Linked DNA regions of Homo sapiens: region 1 is linked to region 2. Evidence: promoter capture Hi-C in human tissues and cell types (Jung and others, 2019). All regions are on one chromosome and are shown on one strand. Each heading gives the region's core, a stretch centred on a gene start or on the middle of the fragment in contact. The rest is flanking DNA. Distances are from core to core; before and after follow the strand shown. Region 1 overlaps IL12A-AS1 (IL12A antisense RNA 1). Region 2 holds the start of IL12A (interleukin 12A).

Evidence for each region. Contacts are between HindIII fragments. The study calls those that stand out against the background at their distance.
Region 1: a contact is called between a fragment that was not itself captured here and the fragment with the promoter of IL12A in region 2, in 2 of the 25 tissues and cell types used here (mesenchymal stem cells and psoas muscle).

Annotation. Positions count from the first base shown.
Region 1 is chr3:159,953,479-159,956,791 of GRCh38, reverse strand. The region is part of intron 9 of IL12A-AS1 (IL12A antisense RNA 1); the gene reads left to right. Among named protein-coding and RNA genes, the nearest start is that of IL12A, 34 kb to the left of the region's middle. The HindIII fragment of the contact is 4,370 bases long and covers 1-3,313 here.
Region 2 is chr3:159,986,696-159,990,089 of GRCh38, reverse strand. IL12A (interleukin 12A) reads right to left here and starts at 1,255. Exons shown (of 7, transcript NM_001397992.1): 1 at 916-1,255. The coding sequence starts at 931. IL12A-AS1 (IL12A antisense RNA 1) reads left to right here. Exons shown (of 10, transcript NR_108088.1): 9 at 797-993. RefSeq lists enhancers at 995-1,044, 544-1,044, 1,045-1,545, 2,397-3,394 and silencers at 1,165-1,214, 1,285-1,484. The HindIII fragment of the contact is 7,471 bases long and covers 1-3,394 here.

The DNA of each region.
Region 1 (3,313 bases), core at 721-3,220, 34 kb after region 2:
TGAAAAAAATTAACAGCAGCACTCGGTGGCTTGGAAGCCTCTGTGTCCTCACTATAATTTTGGATAACATCTGCAGTAGGAATTATGATCATTACTCATGTTAAAGGACCTACTATTCATTTTATAATTTTTAAAGATTATAGAAATTTGTAGTTGTGGCAGTATTTTATGGTACATCATTTGTGGCCTCTGCAATGTATAAAATGCTGAAATCCAAATCAGAAGACAATCCCAATTATAACATTGTTTCTATGAGAAAACAGAAGATGCTTCTTAATGTTATAATTACAGATATATTCACGTATGTACAGAAAAAATTACCTAAGAAAACATATCAAATTTTGACATGAAATTCGTTTTATAAAATTTATCAATAAGTATATATTATTTGAATAATCAAAAATAATAGAGGTTATTTTGGAACAGAAGCAAGGTGCTGTCTACCCCACAGCTGAATCAGGGCAATCCACAAATCTTCTGTAATGTGGAATTAGAATGCAATGACACCATCATTTAGAATTAGAACATACCAAAGAGTAAGTATTAGGAATATGGGGGAATGTATCTTATGTTCTCAGGTTTAGGGAATAAAGTCAAAAGCTTCTTGAGGACAGGCTCCAGGGTTGTCTTGTTATCCCCAGTGCTTAACACTGAGCTGGGCACAGAGTAAGGAAGAATGATAACAAGATTAAGTCACCTTCAGAGGATTAGGGAATGTTTTTAAACATGTGCTGCAGACTCTGAAGGCAGTAAGCAAGTGTTTATTAAATGCATGCTACCGCAGGCACTAGGCTTACTGTGGTGACTCAGAGATGCAGAGGACCTAGTCCTTATACCCGAAGAGGTACAGACTAAAGGAAGAGACAGAGGGGAAGCTGTCAATCAGGTGACAGTAGGACATGTTGTGGAAGAGCTGAGGAGGGAGGAAGCCAGCATGAGGATGGTGCCTTATGAGGTGATTTCATTGATCACTGATTTGGGTGACAAATGCTGGCCCTATTGTTAAAACAGCAGTCTAATGAGATATGGTTTTATTTTTATTTATTTATTTATTTTGAGACAGAGTCTTACTCTGTCACCCAGGCTGGGGTGCAGTGGCGCAATCTTGGCTCACTGCGACCTCCGCCTCCCAGGTTCAAGTGATTCTCCTGCCTTAGCCTCCCGCGTAGCTGGGATTACAGGCGCGCATACCACACCTGGCTAATTTTTTTGTGTGATTTTAGTAGAGACAGGATTTCACCATGTTGGCCAGGCTGGTCTTGAACTCCTGACCTCAGGTGATCCATCCACCTCGTCCTCCCAAAGTGCTGGGATTACAGGCGTGAGCTACCACGCCCAGCTGAGGTAGGGTTTTGAAGGACCCATCTAGGTTTGGCTTGGCCTCAGATGAAGTTCTCTCACTGCCTGTTCTCCATTGCCTGACATTCCCATTACAGCCTACCCCTTTAGAGAATTCTATTATTTGCTCCAGAGTTGTTAAAATATGCATGTGTCTTGTTGAGATGATCTAACAGTACCTCATATCCCCCAGACACCCCAGGATGATGGAGGTCATCCTGACTCCTCCAACTCCCTTGCCTCACACCTCTGGTCACTCTTCATGTCCTGGGGACTCTTCTTCCTCAGTGTCTCTCACATCTAGCACTTCTTCTAACTCTCATGGCCACCATTTTAGTTCAGGTAACGGCCCCTGGAATTATCTTCTTGACTTCAGGCTCTCCTCACTGTGATCCATTCCGTTGCCTGATTGATTAATCTACTGAAAATAGTATTCAAAAATCTTCAGTGGTTTGCCCAAGCTTTTAATTTAGCATTGAGGGCCCTTTGTGAGCTGATTCCAGCTGGCTTTTCTAATTTTGTGTGGCAAATTAGTGGTTTCATTAGGAGATAGATTAGGCAGATGTAAGAAAAAGACTCCAAGTATGTTAGCATAAACATGATAGGTGTTTATGTTTTTCAAAAGCAAAAATCCGTATAGTTGGTCCAGGGCTAATATATGGTTTAATAGTGACAGGGCAGTGGTAACCTGTCTTCAAGATGGCCCCCAATAATTCCTGCCTCCTTCTGTTCATACATTTGTGTAGCCCCTCTCACGATGTATGAAGGTAAATACAGACAAATATTTTTACTTATATTGTGTGATGATTGATTTTATGTGTCAAGCTGGGCTAAGGGATGCCTAGATAGCTGGTGAAACATTATTTCTAGGTGAGTTTGTGAGGCTGTTTCTGGGAAGGATTAGCACTGAATCAGCAGATTGAGTGAGGAAGATTGCCCTCCCCAATGTGGGCAGCCATCATCCAGTCCAGTGAGGGTCCACTGGGATACAGCAAAATGGGGGAGCAAGGGTGGACTCCCTCTCACTTTTGAGCTGATATATTCATCTTTTTCTCCCCTCAGACATTGGAGCAGCTCCTGGTTCTTAAGCTTTTAGACTCAGGGACTTAAACTAGCACCCCCTGCCCTCCGACACCTACTCCCCCACTCCAGTTCAAAGGCCTTTGGACTCAAACTGAATTACACCCCAGCTTGCCTGCTTCTCCAGGTTACAGATGGCATATTGTGGGGCTTCTTGTGAAATGAATGAAATCAAACATTTTCCATCTACTCAAATGGTTATGCACAGGGTTAAGCAGTGCCTTCACAACCAGAGGTAATACACAGTCACATTTATCCTTCAAAATTATTTTCAGTTAAATACATTAATAAATGATGAGTAACATCAAGAGGGGTGTGAACCCCCCATTTCCTCCTTCATCTTTTTAATTAATCAACCCATCCCCTTTTCTGTTGGCTCAGAGATAGAAAGATTTGCATAATATCCTGGTGCCATGGCTGATAATGTCCTCTTTGTTAGTTAACTCTTAAAGGAAGAGTCATGTAAAAGCCTGTAAATGACCATATGAATTATGCATAAAGAACTTAACTCAAGCCATGCATATAAAATGGGCATTCAGAACACAACCTTGACTCTCTTATTCTTTTATAAATAGACTCCCACAGGGCTTGCTAGCCTAGTGTGTACACCTCTCCTAAGCACAAAATGGAGTTTGCTTTGTTGGTTTGAAACTAATTTACAAAATTGAGATGACTAAGAAAATAAAATTTTATAAATGCAGTTGGCATCTGGTTAATAATAATAATGTCTTTAAAATTTTTTATGTATCGGGTTGGTGCAAATAAAAAACCACAATTAAGTTTGCACCAACCTAATGTCTTGCACAACATTATATAACATTCCACACACAGAGTGACTGATGAAAGCTAACTTCTTCTTTTCTCGTGGAGACAAGAAGATCCAGTTTTAGACTGG
Region 2 (3,394 bases), core at 6-2,505:
CTTCACCCATCCATTCATGCTTGGCACCCACCTCCCTCAACCCATTTCCAACACTTTTCCTTCAACACCTGAGAGATGACTCGAGTTATTACAAAGCGCCACTCTATTCTAGGGCTAGAAGCCAGCTCCCTGTGAGGGTCTAGAGATGAGCTTGGACAAGGGTGTTGAACCCAACACTCACCCAGAGAAAGCCTACATGTTTTTGATCAGGGAAACCCAGACCAGGTGGTGAAGTGGCTGAGTCAGACTTGGGACCCAGTGTTTTAAAAACAGTGGAGTGAGAAAGCCTGACTTTTTTTGTTTTTTTAAGACGGAGTCTCACTCTGTGGCCCAGACTGGAGTGCAGTGGCACGATTTTGGCTCACTGCAACCTCCACCTCCGAGTTCAAGCAATTTTCCCTGCCTTAGACTCCCGAGTAGATGGGATTACAGGCACCCACCACCACACTCGGCTAATTTGTGTATTTGTTAGTAGAGACGGGGTTTCACCATGTTGGTCAGGCTGGTCTTGAACTCCTGACCTCAGGAGATCTGTCCGCCTTGGCCTCCCAAAGTGCTGGGATTACAGGCGTGAGCCATTGCACCCGGCCAAGCCTGACTTTAGAACTGGCTAGGATCTGCCTTCTGTTTGTAGCTGAGGGACCCTAGGCAGGAAAGCAGGAAATCTCCCACGCTGGGCCTCAGTTTCTCCTCTACGAAGTGGGCATAATGATAGCTCATCAGGCTGTTTCGAGATGAAAAGAGACATGCCCTATTTAGCACACGGTGAGACCCCTATTCTTATTCCTCTTTGCAGGAGACGGCTGCTGCTGTTCCAGTCTCTCCTTAGGCAGACTTGAGTTTCTACCCACTCTTCCCAAGCAGCCGCCCCTCCGCACCCGAGCGAGCCAAAGACCTGGCGGGCTGAGTACTCACTGCGCGCTGGACACATGCTGAGCCGGCACTGCAGGGACACAGGGCGAGCCGCTGGATGCAGACCTGTGGCCGCGGCAGGTGAGGGCGGTGGCTGGGAGGCTGACCCAGGGGGCCACATTTTTATAATTGTCCCGAGGCGCGGCAGGACTTTCCCGGGACTCTGGTCTCTTGCTTTCTGTCTCCTTCTGTGTCTCTCTCTACATCAGCTTCTCGGTGACACGTGCGGTGCGGCCGGCCCGCGGGGCTTGCGGCGCTTTCGGATTAACTCCCGGGGTGCCCGGCCGCAGCCGTTCCGGGACGGCCCCGCCGCCTCCAGCTCGGCCCAAAATGAAAGCGAAATGTTCGCAGTTACTGCGCGGGGTCCACAGGCGGGCGGGACACCCCGCCCACCACCCTGGGTCCCCGGCCTTAGCCGGACGCCCCGTGTCTAAGCTACCCCGCCCCGCAGCTGTGCAGCGCCCCCTGCCGACGTAGAGAGAGGAGTGCCTCCCACTTTGCATGTCCTGCGTAGGGATGGGCCCTAACCACGACCTCCAGCCTAGTACTGGAAGGGGTAGGCAAATCATTCACTCATCATCGTTCCTTTAGATGGCTCACTAGATGCCAGGCCGACGTTGCACCAGGTGCAGGACACCCAGGGAGAACAGGACCCTTGGGGCATTGCCACACTAAATCAGACTCAAGGCGTTTTGTTCACAGGTCTTTTCTGAAACCTGAAAAGGGATGAGAGCTGGCTGACTCTGCAATTATTACTCTTGTAGAGAATCCAGTTTAACGATAGGATGAATACACAGAGTCCTGGGAGGAAAGACCTAGAGAAAGAGCCCACGCTCAGCCGGAGCAACGGGGTCCAGGAGTCAGCAAAGGCTCCCGGGAGCAGGCAGGGGCCCCAACCTGAGTGTTAAAAACAAGCAGGCATTAGACCGCTTCCAGCGGGAGGGCACGCAGGGTCTAGCCAGGGGAAACAGGGATCAGAAGCGCAGTCATGAAGGGTTGAGGGAGGTGGGGGTCTAGGTGTCCTTGCAGGGTGTGAGGCTGGAGGGCTGGATGGGGCCATGCCATGAGGGCAGGGGATGCCATACTAAGGAGTGTACTTTCTGTGCTGAGAGTAGTGGGGAGTCTTCCTGGGTTTTAGGCGGGAGATGTGGCAGAATTTGCATGATGGGGGGATCCCTTCAGCCACAGCATGAAGGATGGATCCAGGGGTCAGGAGTAGAGCAGAGGGAAGAGTTGACAAGGTGTGGCCAAGTCCTTATTCAGTATGGAGAACACAGGGTGGGCAGGAGGGACTCTCAGAGGGCTTGTGGGCCAAGGCTTGGTAGCTCCTCAGGTGAGCGGGAGAGGAAGGCCCTGAGAATGGGGAATGGAGATTGTTCTAGCTTTACAGGGATTACTGTATAAGAGGACTGAGTTTGGAGGAGATGGTGAGAAGTTCCATTTTGGATGTGCTGGGTTTGAGGTTCCTGTGGGACTTTTTAGTTCAGTTGTTTTTCCCACAGGCATTAGTCACCCTAGGCGTGGGTAGTGGGGAGGATGTGTTTGATCTCTGACTTGGAGCTTCCAAAGGGCCTGACTACACCCAGGCCCTAGGACCTAATAACTGGAGCTGCCTTCTGGGTGGCTCATCTGCTCGAAGCTGATGAAGCACGGCTGTAGGGAGTTTTAGGTGTGTGTAAAATAAGAGAAATGGTTGATCTCTAAGGCCCCTTCTAATGCTGCTGTCTGAGAATTCCCCCACGGGATACAGAGTAATCCATTGTCAGAAACAATTGCGTTTAGCAGTTTGTCTAGAGCAAATGACAGGTGCAGAGCTGTGTTGTGGCCACAAGGGTTTAGTGTGGAGTTAAATGTACTTAAAGTCAGGATGAAGACAAGTGTATCACAACTGAGCTGTTTCTCCCCTGGAAGGGCCATCTCCTATACAAAAGTAATTTCTGTTGCTTAGATGAGCACAGGGCCACTGTTAAAAATGGATTATTGGCTACCAGACACAGTTTCTAATTTACATTTTTGTGAAATAGTTTCCTGAAGTGCTCCATGTCCTCTAGCTAAGATGAAATGAAAACCTTCTTCTAGGAATACATGATTTTTCTATAAGTGACAGTCTTAGCTCACAATCACTACTTCACAGTGTGTAGCATTGTCGTGGAGGTCTCGGCCAATGCTATAAGGAAAGAAAAAGAAATGAGAGCTTTAAACATTGGAAAAGAAAAGGTAAAACTGTCACTTTTTACAGTTGATATACAAAAAGAAAAAAAATTAATAGACTATTAGAACTAAGAAGAGAATTTAACAACATCATGCAATACACATATCAACTTAAAAAAAATCAGCCGATTTTCTTTGTATCTGCAACAATCCATCAGAAAATGTAATAAAAACAAGATGACATGCATAGAAGCAGCCAAACTATAAAGTAACTGACTGTAGATACAGAGGCAGTATAATGGCTAAGAGTATGGACTAAACTATGTTAATC